Linked DNA regions of Homo sapiens: region 1 is linked to region 2. Evidence: promoter capture Hi-C in human tissues and cell types (Jung and others, 2019). All regions are on one chromosome and are shown on one strand. The core of a region is centred on a gene start or on the middle of the fragment in contact, and the rest is flanking DNA. Distances in the headings are between cores, read along the strand shown.

What was found. Contacts are between HindIII fragments. The study calls those that stand out against the background at their distance.
Region 1: a contact is called between a fragment that was not itself captured here and the fragment with the promoter of CRYBB2 in region 2, in 1 of the 25 tissues and cell types used here (dorsolateral prefrontal cortex).

The regions. Positions count from the first base shown.
Region 1 is chr22:26,290,894-26,295,853 of GRCh38, forward strand. It overlaps SEZ6L (seizure related 6 homolog like), which reads left to right. Exons shown (of 17, transcript NM_021115.5): 2 at 1,513-2,253; 3 at 3,399-3,532. Among named protein-coding and RNA genes, the nearest start is that of SEZ6L-AS1, 47 kb to the left of the region's middle. The HindIII fragment of the contact is 7,707 bases long and covers 1-4,960 here.
Region 2 is chr22:25,216,100-25,221,288 of GRCh38, forward strand. It overlaps CRYBB2 (crystallin beta B2), which reads left to right and starts at 3,540. Exons shown (of 6, transcript NM_000496.3): 1 at 3,540-3,567. The HindIII fragment of the contact is 11,576 bases long and covers 1-5,189 here.

The sequences.
Region 1 (4,960 bases), core at 386-2,885, 1.1 Mb after region 2:
AAAACATTTCTGTGTCTCCCACAAGGTCACTCTTACATTCCTTCAGTTTAAAATGTACCTCCCCCAACCCTGCTTTTACACTGTTGGTGGGAATGTAAATTAATTCAACCATTGTGGAAGATGGTGCTGAGATTCCTCAAAGATCTGGAACCAGAAATAGCATTTGACTCAGCAATCCCATTACTGGGTCCCATTACATATATACCCAAAGGAATATAAATCATTCTGTTACAAAGATACATGCATGCACATGTTCATTGCTGCACTATTCACAATAGCAAAGACGTGGAATCAACCTAATGCCCATCAATGATAGACTGGATAAAGAAAATGTGGTACATGTACACCATGGAATACTATGCAGCCATAAAGACAAACAAAATCATGTCCTTTGCAGGGACATAGATGGAGCTGGAAGACATTATCCCTAGCAAACTAAGGCAGGAACAGAAAACCAAACACCACATGTTCTCACTTATAAGTGGGAGTTGAACAATGAGAACACATGGACACAGGGAGGGGAGTAACACACACTGGGGCCTGTTGCGGGGTGGAGTTGGGGGAGGGGAGAGCATTAGGAAAAATAGGTAATGCATGCTGGGCTTAATACCTAGCGTGGGTTGATAGGTGCAGCAAACCACCATGGCACATGTTTACCTACATAACAAACCTGCACATCCTGCACATAGGCCCCAGAACTTAAAATTAAAATTTAAATTTAAAAAAACTCTCCTCCCCCATCCCCCAAGCCCAGCCAGAGCACACAGCTTAGAAAAGAGAGTGTGGCCTGGTGTCCATCCCCACTCATCCTCTTAGCTGCATGTCTTTGTACAGGGAACAATCTGCCCAACTGTACATGGCATGCCTGTCCTGCAGACGGGGTTAGGGCCCGTCCTCTCTGCTCTCTTAGCACACAAGCTTTTCTCTTTCCAAGCATTCATCATATCAAATATGATTGTGTCTACTTTCCCATCCCCCTTCCCAGTACATATACAACCAGGCAGTGAGGCCCCTGTGCTTTTTGTTTCTATACTCCTAATGCTTAGCTCAGTCCTGGCATGATCAAGCCCAAGTCTTCAGGAAAAGGAAGGAAGGAAGGAAGGAAGGAAGGAAGGAAGGAAGGAAGGAAGGAAGGAAGGAAGGATGGATGGAAGGAAAGAAGGAAGGAAATGAAGGAAGAAAATGAAGGAGGAAGGAAGAAAGAAAAAAATGGAAGGGGAAAGGAAGGAGGGAGGGAGGAAAGAAAGAAAGAAAGGAAGGAAGGAAGGAAGGAGGAAGGAAAGAAGGAAGGAGGGAGGGTGGGAGGAAAAGAAGGAAGAAAAGAGAAAGAGGGAGAGAGGGAAGGAGGAGAAAAAAGAAAGGAAGGGAGGGAGGGAGAAAGGAGAAGTTGGTTTAGAGGCCAGCCGGACGAGCTTTGGGCACCGCCCTTAGGAGGGCCACCCTCAGAGTCTGACAGCAGGTGAAGGTCCTAAATCTCCCCAAACTAACTGGTGTCTTTTCTCCTCTTCCAAGATGCTCTTCCCGAGGGAGATGCTAGCCCTTTGGGTCCTTACCTCCTGCCCTCAGGAGCCCCGGAGAGAGGCAGTCCTGGCAAAGAGCACCCTGAAGAGAGAGTGGTAACAGCGCCCCCCAGTTCCTCACAGTCGGCGGAAGTGCTGGGCGAGCTGGTGCTGGATGGGACCGCACCCTCTGCACATCACGACATCCCAGCCCTGTCACCGCTGCTTCCAGAGGAGGCCCGCCCCAAGCACGCCTTGCCCCCCAAGAAGAAACTGCCTTCGCTCAAGCAGGTGAACTCTGCCAGGAAGCAGCTGAGGCCCAAGGCCACCTCCGCAGCCACTGTCCAAAGGGCAGGGTCCCAGCCAGCGTCCCAGGGCCTAGATCTCCTCTCCTCCTCCACGGAGAAGCCTGGCCCACCGGGGGACCCGGACCCCATCGTGGCCTCCGAGGAGGCATCAGAAGTGCCCCTTTGGCTGGACCGAAAGGAGAGTGCGGTCCCTACAACACCCGCACCCCTGCAAATCTCCCCCTTCACTTCGCAGCCCTATGTGGCCCACACACTCCCCCAGAGGCCAGAACCCGGGGAGCCTGGGCCTGACATGGCCCAGGAGGCCCCCCAGGAGGACACCAGCCCCATGGCCCTGATGGACAAAGGTGAGAATGAGCTGACTGGGTCAGCCTCAGAGGAGAGCCAGGAGACCACTACCTCCACCATTATCACCACCACGGTCATCACCACCGAGCAGGCACCAGGTATGCAGCCCCCAACTCCTGAAGCCATCCTGAAACAGCCATGAGGCACTCACTATGTTCAGGGCATGTGGGTAGAGGAATCTCAAGAAGCCCCGGCCCCACCATCAGTTACCGTCCATTGAGCACTGACTATGAGCTTCGCCCTGTGGCTCAGAATTAATAGCCTCATTTCATTTGTTTGTTGTTTTGGGGGGTTGTTTTAGCAAAGGGGTCTTGATCTTTCGCCCAGGCTGGAGTGCCATGGCACGATCATAGCTCACTGCAGCCTCAAACTCCTGTGCTCAAGTGATCCTCTTGCCTCAGCCTCTTGAGTAGCTGGGACTACAAGCATGCACTATGATGTCCAGCTAATTTTTTTGTTTTTTGTAGAAAGGGGGTCTTGCTTATTGTCCAGGCTGGGGAACTCCTGGGCTCAAGCAATCCTCCCACCTCAGCCTCCCAAAGCACTGGGATTACAGGCATGAGCCAGGACACTCAGCCAACATCCCCATTTTAAAGATGAGACAACTGAAACCCTGAGACCCCCAAGCAACCTGCCAAAGGTCACACAGCTAATGAGCAAGATTCAAAACCTTTTCATCTTGGAACGGAATTCTTCATTTAACCTGCTTCAAAGCCACTAGCCTTTTCAAAGCACATTTGCTTTTAGCATTACATGTATTTTCTAGACTTGATAAAATGCTCTTCTGTGTTCCAGTCTTCTCTACCATCTTTAAAATGGGAGAAGGACCCCCAATTGTCAAGCATACATGGATTTTGGACAAGTGCAATGTGGCCACCCTTCAAAGCACGTGAGCTCTGGGTCCAAATCCTGCTTGCTGTTTGAGCTCGGCCCCTCTCTGAGCTTTTGTTTACTTCCCTCTAAACTGGGGATGAAATATTATCAGTCCCTATGAGAATAAGTGGGGTCACCCCTGTTGACTAGCTAAAATGGTGCCTAGCAGGATATAGTAAGTGATCATTCTGTGTCAATTATTGCTATTTTTATTATCATGTCAATTCTGGAGCTGAGGAATTAACAGCAGAAGGACAGATGGGAACAGCAAAATGCAGGTTCCCCTAAAGCCCCCATTCCACCCCACAGCCCATGGTTGAGCTTACATCCAAGTTGTCTTTGGTGTCCTAATTAAAGTCCTTCCTTCCAGCTCTCTGCAGTGTGAGCTTCTCCAATCCTGAGGGGTACATTGACTCCAGCGACTACCCACTGCTGCCCCTCAACAACTTTCTGGAGTGCACATACAACGTGACAGTCTACACTGGCTATGGGGTGGAGCTCCAGGTAACCCCAGGAGAGTACCTCACAGAGGCTGCCTCGTCTAGCAGGAAGTCTCAGGAGGATTGTCTGAGTCAGGCTTACTGTTATGCTAACTAGTTTGGTTCTGTCTTTGCCCAACCAGGCCAACTTTAGCTGGGTTTTGGCGAATGAGTAGGAGTTCTTAACTCAATGCTTTGCTAAAATAGCTTGTGGGGATAGAGGGAACATGCTGACAAATTCTGAGGTATTTCCCAGAAGGAAAATCCCTTGATACTCTGCTTATCTCACACACACATACACACACGCATGCACGTGCATAAACACACACACACACACACACACACACACACACACACGGAAGCTCCACCTGATTCATTTGATTCTTTCTTGCTTGCTTGCTTCCTTATTTCTCTTTCTCTTTCTTTCTTGCTTGCTTGCTTGCTTCCTGCTTTCTTGCTTCTTTCTCTTTCTCTTTCTTTCTTTCTTTCTTGCTTGCTTGCTTGCTTCCTGCTTTCTTGCTTCTTTCTCTTTCTCTTTCTTTCTTTCTTTCTTTCTTTCTTGCTTGCTTGCTTGCTTTCCTTCATTTTCTGGTTATTAGGACATTTTATTCTTAAACTTTTGCCCATACAGTAAGAAAGGAAAAGCAGGGTGGCATAATGCTCAAACATCTGGGTTTTAAGTCCTACCTCTTCCAGTTAAAACTGCGTGACTTTGAACAAGGAACTTCACCTCTCTGAGCCTCAGTTTCCCGATCAATAAAATAGGAATAATGTTACTGCTTTGTAAAGTTTGGGGGAGCAGTAAATATGACAATGCAGAGATCATTTGGCCACAGCCCAGCAGAGAGAGAGGGAGGAGAGAGAGAGAAATCATTTGGTCAGAGCCCAGCAGAAATCGCGACCATGCAGTGCATGTTATCCATTATCTTCAGTATGCTAATCACCCTGAATGTGTTCCTTTTTCTCATGGGAAATAAAGAGCCATCAAAAGTTTCTGAGCTGGGGCAGGTGTATGACCTTACCTTAGGAAGGTTTTTTGTTTTTGTTTTTGTTTTACTTGTATAAGAGAGACAAAAGGTAAGCCCCTCAGCAGTAGAACCTGTAGTCTTTGCAGTCCCCAGAGCTTTGCACAAGTGTGTGGCACATTGTAGGTCCTTAATAATTGTTCATGGAATTAAAATAAACTGGAGAAAACCTGCAGTCCAGATTATTATAGTGCTTAAGAACCCTTTCCTCCATGTCATGAAGAGTATTGGACCCAGTATGTGTCCAGTACTGTGTGGAGCCTTTTACCAGGCACAGTAGAGTTCATTCATTGAGCAATTAGAATGCACCAGGCAAAGCTGTTGACACAGGAGAATATGTTGATGTAAAAAACTGATGCAATGCCTGCCCTAAAAGAGAAATACGTAGGATGCCATTTAGTAGGGACTCTAATTGGTGTTTTAGAGGT
Region 2 (5,189 bases), core at 2,290-4,789:
TAGGAATTCTTTCTTATTTATAAGGACACAGCCAGGTCTTGAATCCATTCATTTACTCAACAAATATTAACTGAGGTCTATTATGGGCTGACCTGTGTCCATAAAAGATATTCCAAAGTCCTAACCCCCAGTACCTCAGAATGTGACCTTCTATTTGGAAATAGGGTCTTTACAGAAGGAACCAATTTGAAACAAAGTCATCAGGGTGAAGTTGCCTAGTGAAGTCACCTAAGCCAACATGACTGGTATCCTTATAGGCACAGAAATTTAGACATAGAATCAGCCATGCACTAAGGGAAGATGATGTGAAGATACAGGGAGAAGACAGTCACGTGATTAAAGTGATGCACCTCCCATCCAAGGAACATGAACAATTACCGGCAAACACAAAGGGCTGGGAGAGACAAGGAAGGACCCTCACCTAGAACCCCTGGAGCAGGCATGGCCCTGCTGACAGCTTGATGTCAGGCTTCCAGCCTCCAGAATTACACAACAATAAACTTCTGGGGTTTTTTGGGGGACATTTTTGTGGTAAAATACTGCATAGCATAAAATTAACCATTTTAACCATTTTTAAGAGTACAGTTCAGTGGCATTGTTATGGGACCATCACCACTATCCATCCCCAGCTTTTCCATCATCCCAAACAGAAACTCTGTACCCATTAAACAATAACTCCCCATTCCCCGCTCCTCCCAGCCCCCAGTAACCTCTATTCTACTTCCAGTCTCCATGAATTTGCCTACCCTAGGTAACTTATGTAAGTGGAATCATACAATATTTGTCCTTTTGTGTCTGGTTTATTTCACTTTGCATAACATTTTCAAACCTCATCATGTTGGAGTCAGAATTTCCTTTCTTTTTAAGGCTGAATAATATTCCATTGTATGGATAGACCACATAGTGTTTATCCATTCATCCGTTGATGGACATTTGGGTGGTTTCCATCTTTCGGCTATTGTGAATAATGCTGCTATGAACATGGGTGTGTAAATATCTCTTCAATTCCCTGCTTTCAATTCTTTGGGGCACGTGCACAGAAGTGGAATGGCTGGCTCATATGGTAATTCTATGTTGGATTTTTTTTTTTTTTTTGAGACAGCCACACTGTTTTCCGTAGTGGCAACACCATTTTACATTCCCAATTTCTGTTGTTTTTAAGCCACTTAGTTTGTGACACTTTATTACAGCAGCCCTGGGATTTATTTTATGTTATTTATTTATTTATTTTCTTTGAGACAGAGTTTTGCTCTTGTTGCCTAGGTTGGAGTGCAATGCCATGATCTTGGCTCACTGCATCCTCTGCCTCGTGGGTTCAAGTGATTCTCCTGCCTCAGCCTCCCGAGTAGCTGGGATTACAGGCATGTGCCACCATGCCCGGCTAATTTTGTATTTTTAGTAGAGACGGGGTTTCTCCATGTTGCTCAGGCAGGTCTCGAGCTCCCAACCTCAGGTGATCCGCCTGGCTTGGCTTCCCAAAGTGCTGGGATTACAGGCGTGAGCCGCTGTGCCCGGCCAGCCCTGGGATTTTAAAACAAGTACCTACTATGCGTCAGGCACTGGGCTCTGGAGATACCATGGTAAACCAGGGGGACAACTTCTTTGCTTTTGTGGTGCTTATCTTCTCATTGGAAAGACAGAAAATAAATGAGTAACAGAATGTTGGGTAGTGATGAGTGCTGCAAAAGGAAAAGCCCAGCTAGGGGGCTGGGGCATGTGTGTGTAGTGTGTGTGCATGCGTGTGCATGCATATGTGCATTAAGAAAATGAGAGACAGGGGAAAGCAGGTATACTTGACCCAGTCTCCAAGCCTCAGATTGGATCAAGACACAGCCTGGGCTGCAAGGAAGGTGTGTGCACTAAAGAAACATGAGTAAAGGCCGGGCGCGGTGGCTCACGCCTGTAATCCCAGCACTTTGGGAGGCCGAGACGGGCGGATAATGAGGTCAGGAGATCGAGACCATCCTGGCTAACACAGTGAAACACCGTCTCTACTAAAAATACAAAAAATTAGCCGGGCGTGTTGGCGGGCGCCTGTAGTCCCAGCTACTAGGGAGGCTGAAGGAGGAGAATGGTGTGAACACGGGAGGCAGAGCTTGCAGTGAGCTGAGATCGTGCCACTGCACTCCAGCCTGGGCGACAGAGCGAGACTCCATCTCAAAAAAAAAAAAAATAGAAAAGAAATGTGAGTAAAGGCTGGGCACCCATGTGGCAGCGATGGGGCCAGTGGTAGGGATCTAAGAGCAACTCACTCTAGGACAGTGGTTAAGAAACAGGCCGGGTGCAGTGGCTCATGCCTGGAATCCCAGCACTTTAGGAGGCCAAGGTGGATGGATTGCCTGAGCTCAGGAGTTTGAGACCACCCTGGGCAACATGTCAAAACCCTGTCTCTAACAAGATACAGCAAAAAAAAGAATTTAGCTGGACCTGGTGGCGCACACCTGTAGTCCCAGCTACTGGTGAGGCTGAGGCAGGAGAATCGCTTGAACCTGGGAGGCAGAGGTTGCAGTGAGCCGAGATCACACCACTGCACTCCAGCCTGGGTGACAGAGTGAGATTCCATCTCAAAAGAAAGAAAGAGAAAGAAAGAAAGAGAGAGAGAGAGGGGGAGAGAGAGAGAGAGAGAGAGAGAGAGGGGAGAGAGAGAGAGAGAGAGAGAGAGAGAGAGAGAGAGAGAGAGAAGAAAGAAAGAAAGAAAGAAAGAAAGAAAGAAAGAAAGAAAGAAAGAAAGAAAGAAAGAGAAAGAAAGAAAGAAAGAAAAGAAAGAGAAACAGCCAGGGGCCTTGAGAATAAAATGCACTCTCCATAATTGGCCTCCCTGGCCCTGCAACATCAGGCCCTGCCCACCTTGGCCACCTGGCACAGGCCCTATTTGTCACATGTCATGCTTTAGCTTTGTTAACCTGTTTTCAGGTCTTCTTGAAATACACCATGCTGGTTCCTTGTATATGGACCCTTTCTGCTTGGAACTGTCCCCCCACCCTGTTCCCAGGCTTCCTCTTCTCCATCCCTGAGGGATGCGCTACCTCCCAGGAGCTTTTCTGAATGGCCTGGGCTGGCGTAGGTCCTCTTCCTGACACTCCCCTGGAACAGAGATTGTCACCAAGTGGATGCCCAACAAATATTTGTTGAATGAATAAATGGGTAGATGAATGAAGCCCAGACTCTGCCAAACCACCCTTCTTTACTTGTTCTTCCCCAGGCCCACTGAGATGTTCCTCTGTCTGCCATGCCTCACGGCCTGACTGACCGTACCAGTGAACCCAGCGTACCCCTGGCCCTGGCAGCCGGACGGCTGATGCATGCAAAGCGGGCATCTCCTTGCCCAGCCGCCTGACCGCCCTGGCGCGGCCGAATCTGAAAGCTAATGACATTATTGTGCAGAGACACAATGTCTGTGGGCATTTGCTGACCCGAGCTTTGGTGAGAGCTTAATCCAGCATTCTCACCCTGCTTTTCGCAGGAGCACAGCGGTCACTCATCTTGGCACCGGCACTTCTGGGGAAGGTATAAATGCCACCTCCCGCTGGCCGAGCTTCACGGCACTCGCAGGGGCTGGTGTCACTGGTAAGATTGCCTCTCTTGCTTGTCTTCCCTTCTTTCTCTCATCCTCACCCCTGTCCGCAAGCATGGGAGCACCCAGATTCTGACAAGTGACTTTGGGCAGAGACTTCAATGCTGTTAGCCTCAGTTTTCTTTTCTGGTAACTGGGAAGGGGGTTAAAAAGCCTTCTTTATTGTAAGGATTCAAGAGAAGTTAGGGGATCATCCAGCACAGTGCCTGGCACACAGTGGGCATTGGGGCAATGTTCTTTATTATTAATATTAAACAGACTATCAGCATCCTTGTTTCGCCAGTCGCTGAGGAGGAGAATGTAACTGAGGGTTTTGCAAGAATCAAACCAGTGACAGTTCAGCATTGTTTCTAGGTGGGTGAGTCAGTTTTCCTCCACATCTGCAATTAGGGGGCACCCACTCTGTGCCTAGCCTCTGGGAGTGCTAGGGGATAGGATGCAGCCACAGGTATGTGACAGGTCCCAGCAACAGGTGATTTCAATGCCACTAAAGCATGGTAGAAATGACTCTAATAATGCCACAATTGCTGCCATTTGCTGCATGCTGAGTGTGTTCTGGGACCACGGCCAAGTGCTTCCGGTTTTATACATTACATAATTGAATCCTCACAACCTGTTCACAGGTATTATTAGACATCATTACTGTCCCCATTTTATAGAACAGGAAGTTGAGGCATAGGGAGAGGATGAGACCTGCCCAGAGTCTCAATTCTGGCAGGCAGCAGAGACTGCTCCTGAACTGGACCAACTGAGCTTCTTCAGTCTGTGAACACTCAGGACTGGGAAGTGATATGGCAGGACCTCAGGCACTCTGACAAGCCCAGAGGGCTGGTTTCTTGCGGGAGAGCAGTAGATTTGGCTGCCAAGGTGCTTAACTGCATTTCTTCCTCCTGGGAAACATCCAGTATTGGCCTTTCATGTGGAAGGGGCTTCTGGAAGCTGGCGTTATCTCTGAAGAGGGAGGCCAGGCTTCCTCTCTTACCCCTGGGGAAACACAGCCTGGTTTGACCACCCCTTCTGCAGGAAGGGGGAAGAGGCTGACAATTTTCCAGGCTTTTCTGATGTTCTCACTAGCTAAGGCAGGTCTACCCTGCTGCCTGCCACAGTGCCTGGATTTCTACCGTCGCACCCATTTCTTCTCTTTCTTGTAATGTGGGTTCTGTATCAGATGATTTCACTAATGGGGGAGTAAAACCAGTGGCAGAGAAGAGAAATCTAGGTACCAGGATGGGGAGAGGAGTCCCAGGGAGAGGGTGGGAGAAGGAGCAGGGGAACAGGGAACTTTGTGAGTTCCTAAACTGGGCACCACCACACCACCAAATACAGCCAATGCATAGGTTTTGTTTGTTCCACACAATTTTATTTAAGAAATTACTGCATAAAGGCAGAAGTTCTGGGATTGACCATTCTATATTCTGTGTGGTATCCATTGTCTGGGGTTGAGTGTTGGGAACCCACTTTGGACCTCATTTAAGCTCTAGTTTATTACTGCTCTCTTTCTTTGAGTAGACCTCGTTTTTCCCTCCTCCTGCAGCTGGCCTGGATAGAAATAAATGAAGCTAAGGACAGAAGTTGAAGTAGCTGCTTACGGACCCCACAGCTCTGGGACAGTCTG